Regions from separate parts of the Homo sapiens genome. Here regions 1, 3 and 4 are each linked to region 2. Evidence: promoter capture Hi-C in human tissues and cell types (Jung and others, 2019). All regions are on one chromosome and are shown on one strand. Each heading gives the region's core, a stretch centred on a gene start or on the middle of the fragment in contact. The rest is flanking DNA. Distances are from core to core; before and after follow the strand shown.

The links. Contacts are between HindIII fragments. The study calls those that stand out against the background at their distance.
Region 1: a fragment that was not itself captured here is called in contact with the fragment with the promoter of HDAC11 in region 2 in 1 of the 25 tissues and cell types used here (dorsolateral prefrontal cortex).
Region 3: a contact is called between a fragment that was not itself captured here and the fragment with the promoter of HDAC11 in region 2, in 1 of the 25 tissues and cell types used here (H1 embryonic stem cells).
Region 4: a fragment that was not itself captured here is called in contact with the fragment with the promoter of HDAC11 in region 2 in 3 of the 25 tissues and cell types used here (H1 embryonic stem cells, adrenal gland and spleen).

The regions. Positions count from the first base shown.
Region 1 is chr3:13,156,230-13,158,929 of GRCh38, reverse strand. It overlaps a transcript of IQSEC1 not described here. Among named protein-coding and RNA genes, the nearest start is that of IQSEC1, 84 kb to the right of the region's middle. The HindIII fragment of the contact is 3,739 bases long and covers 1-2,700 here.
Region 2 is chr3:13,479,054-13,481,753 of GRCh38, reverse strand. It overlaps HDAC11 (histone deacetylase 11), which reads right to left and starts at 1,448. Exons shown (of 10, transcript NM_024827.4): 1 at 1,405-1,448; 2 at 360-508. The coding sequence starts at 1,406. It overlaps HDAC11-AS1 (HDAC11 antisense RNA 1), which reads left to right and starts at 1,701. Exons shown (of 2, transcript NR_046690.1): 1 at 1,701-2,111. RefSeq lists enhancers at 727-1,383, 2,033-2,092 and a silencer at 1,083-1,572. The HindIII fragment of the contact is 10,065 bases long and covers 1-2,700 here.
Region 3 is chr3:13,831,379-13,834,078 of GRCh38, reverse strand. The region is part of intron 3 of WNT7A (Wnt family member 7A); the gene reads left to right. Among named protein-coding and RNA genes, the nearest start is that of WNT7A, 47 kb to the left of the region's middle. RefSeq lists an enhancer at 35-535. The HindIII fragment of the contact is 4,838 bases long and covers 1-2,700 here.
Region 4 is chr3:13,196,280-13,198,979 of GRCh38, reverse strand. It overlaps a transcript of IQSEC1 not described here. Among named protein-coding and RNA genes, the nearest start is that of IQSEC1, 120 kb to the right of the region's middle. RefSeq lists enhancers at 1-18, 579-1,199. The HindIII fragment of the contact is 4,879 bases long and covers 1-2,700 here.

The DNA of each region.
Region 1 (2,700 bases), core at 142-2,641, 320 kb after region 2:
AATGCAGTGGTGTGATCTCAGCTCACTGCAACCTCCGCCTCCTGGGTTCCAGCGATTCTCGTGCCTCAGCCTCCTGAGTGGCTGGGACTACAGGCGCACACCACCACGCTTGGCTAATTTTTGTATTTTTAGTAGAGACAGGGTTTTGTCATGATGCCCAGGCTGAACTTGAACTCCTGGGCTCAAGTGATCTGCCTGTCTCGGACTCCTAAAGTGCTGGGATTACCACGCCCAGCCCTGACCTTAGAAGCATATTGCATGAGGTGGTCCCATGTAGGTCGCCTCCCCGTCAGGACTCTGAACGTTGACTGGCATTTTCCAAAGGCAACAGCAAGGCTCAGGGCTGGGACAATGAGGAGAGCCCAAGGACTGTTTTGTTTGGGGATGGTGGGGGAGATTCTGGAGACGGTGGGCCTGGTTACCAGCATTGACTCAGCTGGAACCAAGATGTGTGAGTAAACGTAATTAGTCCAAACAAATCCAGTTTTCTGTCTCCATACCAAGGCAAAGCAGCCTTTGTAATTAACTGGGCCTTTTTCCCCAAACCCAAAATGAGAACACACAGTTTATTTTGTTCACAAGGAGGTATGAAAACTGCTGAACGTGGCAGACAAAGCTGGGAGTGTTTGCTGTGCCAGGTAGACAGAGCTGAACTCTTTCTCTCCAGGAAGGAATGGGAGCAGGCTCCAAATGTGAGAGACGGGCTGGGGCTGGGCCGGGTCCCTCTGCCGCTATCCAGCCATGTTTTGGAGGTGCTGGACTGAGGGCTGAGCCGGCGGCCTCTGGAGGCGAGTGGACATTTCTTAGCACGGTGGAATCAAAAGAGTACAGACACTGGGGGCAGATAATCTTGAATTCAAATCCTTTCTCTTTGTCTTACCCTCATGTCACTATGCAACAGCCCCTGAGCTCTCCAAGCCTCAGATTTCACACTCATTTAACAGTCTTCATTGAGCACCTACTGTGTCTTTGTGCTAACTACTAAGGGTGTGAAGACCAATGAGATACAGTTAATTTCTGCCCCATGATGAAATCGGAGCAAAGACTTTAGCCTCAAGGCCATGGACCAATTAAATGAGGCATAGATGGAACAGCACATGCCATGTCATAGCATTCAGTTAACATCCATTTCCTTTCTTCTCCCTCTGCCACAGTCTGTGGAGACGCGGCTGCTCAGAATCCTGAGGGAGGGTCTGAGGCAAGCCCATGTTTACATGAGCAGGAGGTGGTAGCAGCTGCTTGTAGAGTGTGCCCTTTTGGCTGTCCTCCTTCCTTCCTTTGCTCCCCTGGGTTTATGATTGAGATTTCTTGGGCATTCTTGACTGTGGTGGACTTTACTTTTCCATCTCCTTGACTCTGTGCTGTATCCTGAGCAATTTCCTCAGGATGGTCTTCTAGTTCACTAGTGCTTTCTTCAGCTGTGTTCATTCTGCTGTGTGGCCTATGAATTGTGGGTCCCTGAGACCCTTGAATGGCCTCTGGATACCCTCAGCCTGCTTTCAGAGGCACTACTGGGCCTTTCTTTACACGGGAAGTAGAAAGATCTTATAGGAGCCACATTGAAGTCACTGGGCAAAAACCTATCTGACTGGGTGTATTTTGCGTTTTGATTTGTTTTCTGTGAACTTGTGTAGAGAATTAATAACTGACTGTTTAGAAGATGAGGCAGAGATATTGGTGTGGGGGCAAGGGAGTCTACTAATGGGGAATTAGACTAAATCCCAAAATACATTTGGTAAGCCTTGTCTAAACATCTGCTTCTATTGCAACCAAATCTTAAAGGTACTTAGAAGGTGGTGACACAATGTGTATGTGTGCATCTGACCCAGGTCCAGTGTTTGGGACAGTGAGGACTTTGAAACCAGGGTCTAAGCTGAATGACCTTGGTCAAATGACTCAAATTCCCTGAGCCTCAGTGTCCTTATCTCAAATGGAAATGAAAACATCAAGAGTTTTCTTGATCTTGTCCACATCTGACTCTCCATTCTCTCCTCCATCACTGTGGTCATCACACTCTGGCCTTCTGGTACCTCCATTCTTCCAAGCTCATTAGTGTCCCAGGGCCTTTGCCTGTGCTGTTCCCTCAGCCTAGAACATGCTCCCCCAGGTCTCACCCAAGATGAGTTCTCCTCAGTCCAATCCCCCTTCAGATGTCAGCTCCTCTTCCCTTATCATCTCACCTGAAGTAACCTAGCCAATCTCTGCACATCAGCCAGTTTACTTCTGTCCCTTATCTGCCTGTCCCCACTGGAATGTCAGCAGGAACTTTGTCTTATGCAGTGCTGTGCCTCAGTGCTCTGCCATGTGCCCTGGCACAGCATGCTATTTTGGTCTCTGTACTTGCCACTTCCCACATCCAAGGGGAGCACCTCTGGAAGGAGGCCAGAGCTAAATGTGCTAAGCTTGTCTGTCCACATGCCTGAATGCTCCCACTTCTGTCCCTCCATCATGCACTTCTTTCTCTTTCCTAATTGCCTATCTAGGACTTCCAATACTATGTTGAGCCCAAATGACAAAAATGACATCCTTGTCTTGTTCCTGATCTTAGCTAAAAAGCTTTCAGTCTTTCACTGCTGAGTATGATGTTAGCTGTGGATTTTTTGTATATGGTCTTCATTATGTTGAGGTAGTTTCTTTCCATTCCTATTTTGTTTAGTGTTTTTATTTTATTTATTTTATTTTTAATTTTTATTTTTTTGG
Region 2 (2,700 bases), core at 199-2,698:
GAGAGGTGCGGTGGAGGTGCTCTACCTCCTGACTCTCTGAACCTTAGGAAATGGACTCCTCCAAGCTTCACCTTCCCTGTGCCCATCAGTAATCAGCTACCTTTCCACTAGGCCTCTTGGGCAGAGGCAGGACTTAGGCCCACAGGATGGGGAGCCAGGGAGAGTCTGAGTCAGGGACATCATATCGTGATTAGGAGTCTGTGTTGGAAAAATCATTTTGGGCGGAAGCATGGGTGGAAGGCCATCCGAGGGCTGAAACTGAAGATGGGAGAGAGCCTGAGGCTTATGTTGGGGATGAGGACGGAGAGGACAGGTGGGTTGGAGGAAGCAGATGAGAGTCCAAGGGGGACCTTCCATACCTTTTAGGAAATTGATCACTTTGCCCCATTTTCCGGCATCAAAGGGATGCAGCTTCTCCAGGCCCATGAAGGTGATGTTGTAGCGCGGCGAGTACACGATTGGCCAGCGTGTCTCTGGCACATGCTGGTACAGCTGGGTTGTGTGTAGCCTACCGTGTGGAAAAAGACAGACGCACAGCTGGGGCAGCCTCGGCAGAAAGCAGCTCCCTCCCGAGCCCGCCTGGACTGACCCACCAGCCATTGCCCAGCACCACTAGCCCCTCAGCCGCAGACAAGGGCCCCTCAACAACAGCTGCTTAAACTGGCTGCCTTTCCCGGAACCCAATTCCAATCCAGTCCTCACAGCAGCCCTGGGGGTAGGCACCACAATCGCACCAGAGGCTCAGAGAGCAGACCAGGTGTGCCCAAGGTCACAGTGCAGGTCTGTGGAGAAGCAGGCGTGCACTCAGGTGTGTCTGGCTGCAAGGCCTCCGCGCATCACCTCTGCACCGTAATAAATGCCCCCACAGCTGTGTGGCACAAGGCTTCGGCTGCAAAATGTGTGGCTGTTGTGAGGACTCAGAGAATGCAACTGAGGAGCTGAGCACAGTAAGCACTCAGAAACCCAAGTCGGGACCCAACCTGAGCCAGGGCGGGGGGCGGGGATCCCCTGACCCCGCTGCGCTGCTAACCCTTCCCATCACACCCTGGCAGTCGTCACCCAGAGACAGAAATCCGCCCCAGTGGCTGCCTCCGTGGGGGCGTCCGCGTAGCCAGGGGGCTGGGCAGCGCAGACGTCAGACCCGCGCACATCGCCCGACCGCTCCGGGTCCGGGCCCAGGCCCGCGGCCGGCGCGCGTCCCTCGGGCCACCGAGCAGGGGCGCGGGGCTGGCCTGGCGCGCCGGGAGGGCCTGGAAACACCCGTCCCGAGCGTCCCTCACCCCTCACCAGCAAATCTGGGCCCTTACCTGGCGCGCCCGCCCGGCCGTCCCCGCCCTCGCCCTAGCGCGCCCGCCCACCGGGACCCCTGGGAGCCCACCCCCGCCCTCGCCCCGCGGCACTCACATCCCGGGGCCGGCCCTCCCAAAGCTGGCCGCAGCTCCGCGACCGGGCGGGGCGGGGCGGGGCGCGGGTGGGGCCAGCCCAGGACACGCCCCCGGGCTTAGCCGCGTCCTCTGGGGGCAGAGCTCTGGCCGATTTGGCCCGCCCCGCCAGTGTTGCGACACAGAGAGCCTGCCCGCAGGAAGGCCACCCCCAACGCCCATCAAGCCCGAAGTCCCGCCTCCGCAGGCAAATACCCGGTGGAATCCCGCCTGGTTCGGAAGCTCCGCCCCCTGGCGGGAGGGCCAAGCGGGTTTCACCCCGGCCTCGCGGAAGGGGCGCGACCACCGTATGTCCTGTTCCTGCGCTTCCCAAGCTGGGTAGAAACGGCGAGAGGCTGGGGGTTAGAAACGACAGGTTCCCGGCGGGCTGTGCCGGGGCTTCGCTGTGTGACCTTGGGCTGGCGTCTGGGCTCTCTGGGCCCTTGTTTCCGCGAGTTAAACGTAGGGGCGGGGGAGTTTCTCTGGCCCTGCCGCCTGTGACCTAAGGAGCCCCGTGACCTCTCCGACCCGAGCCCACCCCCGGCCCAGTCTGCGAGCAGCTCCGGGACAAGCACTCCCGGCGAAGACATGTAGGCTCTCAGAGCCTGCGTTTCCCTCTGTAGAGCAGGCCTAGTTACTGTCTTCAGGGTGCACGCGTCTCCGTCCCCGACCCGCACCCTCACCGCCGGGGTAAGCTGAGCCAGGCCCAAGCGACAGCTGGGGTTGTCCGTGGGGCTGCAACCCAGGAGGAGGCCCCAACAATAGAGCCCCAGAGGACGGAGACAATGGGCCTCTCTGTCGGCCCAGCCGTCCCCGCCATCCAAACAGAAGCAGCTGACGGAGGACTGCCGGGCTGGGATCCCTGGGCTCCGCGGGGGCGGCTGTGTGCCAGGGCGGGGCACAAGGGAAGCGCACAGACGTTTGAAGAGGGGCCCCCGTGTGCCTGCCATGATTGCATGATGGCATCTGAGCCTCACAACCTAATCCTGAGAAAGGTGCCATAATCACCCCAACTTTATCTTGAGGGAACTGAGGTTCGGGCCTGGATTAAACCCAAACTCGGCCACCCGCCAGCATAGTGGCTTTGGGCAGGTTGCTTCAGCCTTCTGGTCCTTCATGTCTGCATCTGAAAATGAAGTACTGGGCCGGGTGCGGTGGCTCACGCCTGTAATCCCAGCACTTTGGGAGGCCGAGGCGGGTGAATCACCTGAGGTCAGGAGTTCGAGACCATCCTGACCAACATGGTGAAACCCCGTCTCTACTAAAAATACAAAAAATT
Region 3 (2,700 bases), core at 17-2,516, 350 kb before region 2:
GAACGGGAGCAAGTTTGCGCTTTCCTTCAGGGCCACCATTGGTGGAAGCTGGTATCAGCCTTATGCCCGTGTGACAGTTGACAGCACAGCCACCTCCCCCTCCAGAGCTTAAGCTTCAAGGGAGTCAGGGGCTTGCCTCTTTCTGCCCACCTGGCCACCAACCTCAGCGCCTGGCCAGGGAAGGGATTAAGTTAGCGTGTGGTGGAAAGGTGAATGAGTGGATGAATGAATAAGTGAATGTATGACTGACTGCCAAGGCCATTTCAGGGTGCTCCAGCAGTTGGGAGAAGCACATAGGTTCAGTGGCTCCATGTCCCCGCTGTCAGCCTCCCTGCCCCTCACGCTGTGGTTGGGGTTACCCAATTGCCTCACCCCAGGTCACAGGCCACAGTCCCCACTAACCTAGACTCTGGGACAGGCCTGCCCAAGGCAACCCCTGCCCCGTAGTCAACCTAGCAGCCTGCAGGGAGGTCACTTATGAGAGAGAGGCACCCAGAATGCATCTAGGAGAGGCTGCACTGTGTGGTGCTGCACTGTGTGGGGCTCGACTATTCCACCTCCAAATGGGTTTGCTACTTTAAATGCCCCAGTTTACAGGGGAGCAAAGCTGAGACCTGGCCCCAGGCCCCCCATGCCAGTGTGCAGTGGGTCCATCTGCTAGCCACCACCATATGGGCTCCCTTCATGTTTGAGGGTGTGTGTGTGTGCGCTTGTGTGCCGGGAAGTATGTGGGCAGGACTGTGTGTGAAGGGCTATCTGTGCATATGTTGTGTAGGGATGGACGGCATGAGAAGCACCTGTGTGTGAGCATATGTGTCATGCATACCTGTGAGGGAGTGTGTGAGTGTGCGCACAGGCGTAAGAGTGTGTGCTTTGAGTGTGCTGATGAGTGTGAGGGTGTGAGCCTGTGGGGGGTTGCATGGGGCCATGCCTGGGGAGGTTGTGTATGTGTGAGCACATGGTGGGATGTGACTGTGTGCAGGCCACACAGGTTACTGGGGGGGTAGGAGCCTAGAAAGAGATGAATCTGGGGTGAGGGGCTGTGTGTCCACAGTTCTCGGGCTCCTAAGATACCCCAAAGTTGGGCAGAGACCAGTTCATGGAGGGTCTTGAAAGCCAGGCAGAGGAATCTGGGCTTTAACCTCAGGAGCCATAGACAGCATCTAAGCAGTTGTAACCTGGCAAACACTGAGTTTCAGAAGGCCCCCAGTATAGACCAGAAAACCTCTCTCTGGCTTGAGTGGAAACCTCTCTTCCTGTACCTCCCAGGCTGCATTCCAGGGGCCCTGTCCTATGGGGTGCACCTTTTCCCTGCCATCCCCTCCATGTCAGGCAGGAATATTTGCTTGAAGTCAGTGCATCCAGAATGACTTAAAGAATGCACCAAAAAGAAAATACCTCAAATGTTTACAGAAAAAAAAAAAAGCCATTTTTTCTGCTCTTTCATCTGAGTCGCCCAGAGGTATACAGCTGCAGCTGGCTGAAATGCAGCTTTCTGCTAAGATGGATCGACATGGGGAGGGAGAGGAGGAGCAGGAGGAGACTGAGAAGGAGGAGGAAGAGCAGGAGAAAGAGTAGGAGGAGCCTGAGGAGGGGGAGGAGGAGGAAGAGCAGGAGAAGCTTGGGAAGAAGGAGAAGCTTGAGAAAGAGGAGGAGCCTGTGAGAAGGAAGAGTGGGAGGAGCCTGTAGAGGAGGAGGAGTGGGAGGAGCCTGTGGAGGATGAGGAGCAGAAGGAGGAAGAGTAGGAGAAGCTTGGGAAGAAGGAGAAGCCTGTAGAGGAGGAGGAGCCTGCAGAGGAAGAGGAGGAGCAGGAGGATGGGAGCAAGAGGAGGAGGAGGGGGAGAAGGAGGAGCATGAAGAGCAAGAGAAGGAGAAGGAGGAGCAGGAGGAAGAGCAGGAGGATCTTGAGGAGGAGGAGGGGGAGCAGGAGGAGCCTGAGGAGGAGGAAGAGGGGGAGGAGGAGGAGGAATATCATCAGGAGCAGGAGAAGCAGGAGCAGGAACAGGAGGGGAGCAGGTGGTGGCAGCTCTGGATGGGAGCCTGTAGCACCTATCCTGGTGTGGGTATCCACACTTATTGTCTCCCGGGGTTGGGGGTCCAAGGCTGCCTGCCCGCTGACCTCCACGTTGTCTTTATTCAGTGCCTTGGAAAGGGTCCCTGGTTTGGACATTTGCAAGCAGGACAGGTCCTGGGCGGGACTCTGGGGAGATACACCTATAAGGCAGTGAGGAAGGCAGCCCTGGGCATCGAGAGAAGTTGGCCAGTGATGCAGCAGCCACAGGGACTTATGCTGGTCCCATGAGAAACCTGGAGCTGGGTTAGCCCCATGGAGGCAGGGAGATGGGCCTTTGTACCCAGCACCAACCAGTCTTTGGCTGGGGGGCTGCCCAGGGAGGGGGAGTGGTCTTGGGTGAGACAGCTCCCATCAGGGGAGGGCAGTGCCTAGGGAGGAACTCAGCTGCTAGCCATCAGCAGCAACACTCCCAGCAGCTGCAGAGGGAGTGTCTGGTCCTGAAGGACAGATCCCAGTGGCATGCGACAGTGTCCACTACACAAGCCAGCCCAAGTGACCATCACCGAGGGAGCAAGGCCATCCTAGCCCACCCACCTTCCTTCTGTTCGGCCACATTACAGCTCTACAGCCAGATTGCTGGACTCCAATACCAGTTCCATGCTTCCTGACTGTGTGACTGTGGTCCG
Region 4 (2,700 bases), core at 124-2,623, 280 kb after region 2:
CTAAACACTCGCCCGGCAGCCTCCCAAGCCCAGCCATGGTCACTCTGGTGTATTCCGTCCTGGGCATTTCTCCTCAGCAGGCTTTTTCTTTCCCAGGAACAGAAAGTGTGGGATTCTGCTTTTCTTCAGCAGAATAATAACTCCTCACTCCAAGGGCATGAGCTCCAGCAGGCACTGGCTTCAGCTCCCACGTGCCTTGCTGTGTTGGGTGCTTTGGGTGGAGGCTTAGCCTCTTCTTGTGGTGGAGAAACACAGGCTAAGACATGGCAGTGCCTTGCCCATGGTCACATGGTGTGTAAGAGGACGCAGCCAGCCGGCATGAGAGCTGGAATTCAAAGGCAGTTGGCTGTGGTATGATCCCGGCTGTAGGTCACCACCAAGCCAAACTCAGAACATGTGCATTTCCCTGTGCCACCCAGAGTGTCATGCACAGGACTCTTGGTGGTGGCAGGACATTCCAGCGGTCATCACCGCCTAGGAGCTGAGCTGCGTGAAATCTGCATCTCACTCTGGGTGGAGCCCCTTCCTGCCCCCCGCCTACCCTGGTTGGTGAGTTCTCAGACTGGATCTCTAGGCGCGGTATGCACTCTTCAGATGAGCCACCCAGAACCTCCAGGGGGACAGCCCACGGCCATCCCAAGCTTCAGAATTACTCTTTAAATATTTTGTGTTTACATGGTTGCAAGGCTTATGCTTTTGGGAGAAAAAAGCCCACAAATGGGCCATAACAAGCAGGAGAAGCAGAAAGTAAATTACCTTTTAATGTCTGGATGAGCTTGTTGACCGTAGGACTAAATTATAGGGGTCCTCTGTGGGGCATGAGCAGAAATTGTTAGAATTAGAGAAAACAGGCCACGTGGCCTGAGCTCAGCACCTCTTCACACAATTCTCCTCCAGGCAAGGGTCATCATCTCTGTCCTTTCAGACCCTGCGTGCCCACAGAGTCTAAGCCCTGCCCCGGGGCCACAGGGCATAGTCCTCTCCACAGAGAGGCCTCGGGAGGCCGGGTGCACGCTGTGCACACACATCCAAGCCGCGGGCACCACGCTCCGCTCCTGCTGGGCAGCCTTGGGCAGGCCACTCAGGCCCTCCAAGACCAGGGTTTTTCTTCCCGCTGGCTGGGGGACTCGCTCCCACCTAGCTCATGTCCAGCCTGTACTAAAGCCTAATTCGGCCTTGACTATCTTCCTTGGCCTCTCTGGACCTCAGTGTGCCCACCTGTGAACGGGGCACACTTCCCTACCAGCTTGCAATGTTGATGCCCCACCCATGCCTGGCCTGTGCACCTCCCTGAACCACTCTGCTGGTCGTAAGGTGGGATGCTGACTAGCGACTACTGCATGCGGCCGTGAAGTTATCAGGGCCTGGGTCTGGACTCTGTCAAGATGCTGCTGAATAGGGCGGGCAGCTTGGTCGTAGGGGCCCTGGTCATTATGCAGCCTGTGGGGGACATTTGAGGCCCCCAGTCCCTGTAGCCTTGTGGAGAGTGGCCTGCCCTGCAGCTGGCCTGGTGATGAGTGTTGGCTGCTGGGACACTTCAGGATGGGGCCGGGCACCAGCACGTCCTGTCTGCCAGGCTGGGAACTCAGTGCCTGTCCAGCTCAGCCCCAGTGGGGCAGGGAGCACCCCACCCTCCAGCGCCCCTGGCCATGCATCTGCCGTTTATGAAGATGCCTCTTTCCCGCTGTTGTGGGCGCTTGGGGGCTGCAAATGTTGATTTTTAAAAAATGTGTGCAGGGAGCAAGCGTTTCCCGTTCAAGTGAAGGAAGACATGGTTCATGTGCATCCCTGACCTTCCGTAGGGGATATCTGTTCAGATGTCTTCAGGCTCCTGGAGAGGCAGACAAAGCTACACAGTCCCAAGAGGAGGTAGCCTTTGATGTCCTTGCTGTCTTGGTCTATGGTCCACAGTGTCCCAGGGCACAGGGGCCTCCAGGTGGAGGCAGTGTCGTGGCAAGGGTCTTAACTGCAGCCCTCCTCAACTCTCCCTACGCATCCTGCCTCAGAGAACACCCTTCCTGCCTCTGAGCTGGGTCTGCTGCCCGGTGACACCCCCACCCGGATCCCACAGACTCTCCTGCTCCCCCTGACTTGGGACAAGCCTGTGTGGCCTGAGAGACAAGGAATAGAGCCCCTGCGGCTGCTTCTTTCTGGACTTCCTGGGATGGGCTCTCCAGCCTGCTCCCCACCACACACACACACACACACACACACACACACACACACACACGCACACACATGTACATACACACGCACGCGCATGCCAGGGATATTCATTATTCATTCACTGAAAGATTTACCTTTCATTTGCAAAGGGAATCAGAAACGTGTGTTCTTCTCATTGGGAAAGAAGCAGGGAGACTTGGCAGGCTGCTCACGCAGCCCTCCCTGTGGCCTGTTCTCCAGGAGATGGGGCTGAGTGACAGCCAGACGTGCAGGGCAAGCAGCCTGGGAAATGCTGCAGTGACAGGAGCCTGTCTCAGAGGCGCTCAGGAAGGAAGCCACATTGAGCCCTCGGTTGAGGAGGAAGGAAATGTGCACCTTGGGGAACAAAGCTTGCCAAACCTTAGTGGTGTAGAACAGCAGGCTTCATGCGTTACCTTTCCTTGTCTCTGAGGTCAGGATGGCTTGCCTCTGCTCCACAACGTCTGCGGCACCAGCTGGAAGAAGACTCAGAGGCTTCAGGTGCCTGGATGGCTG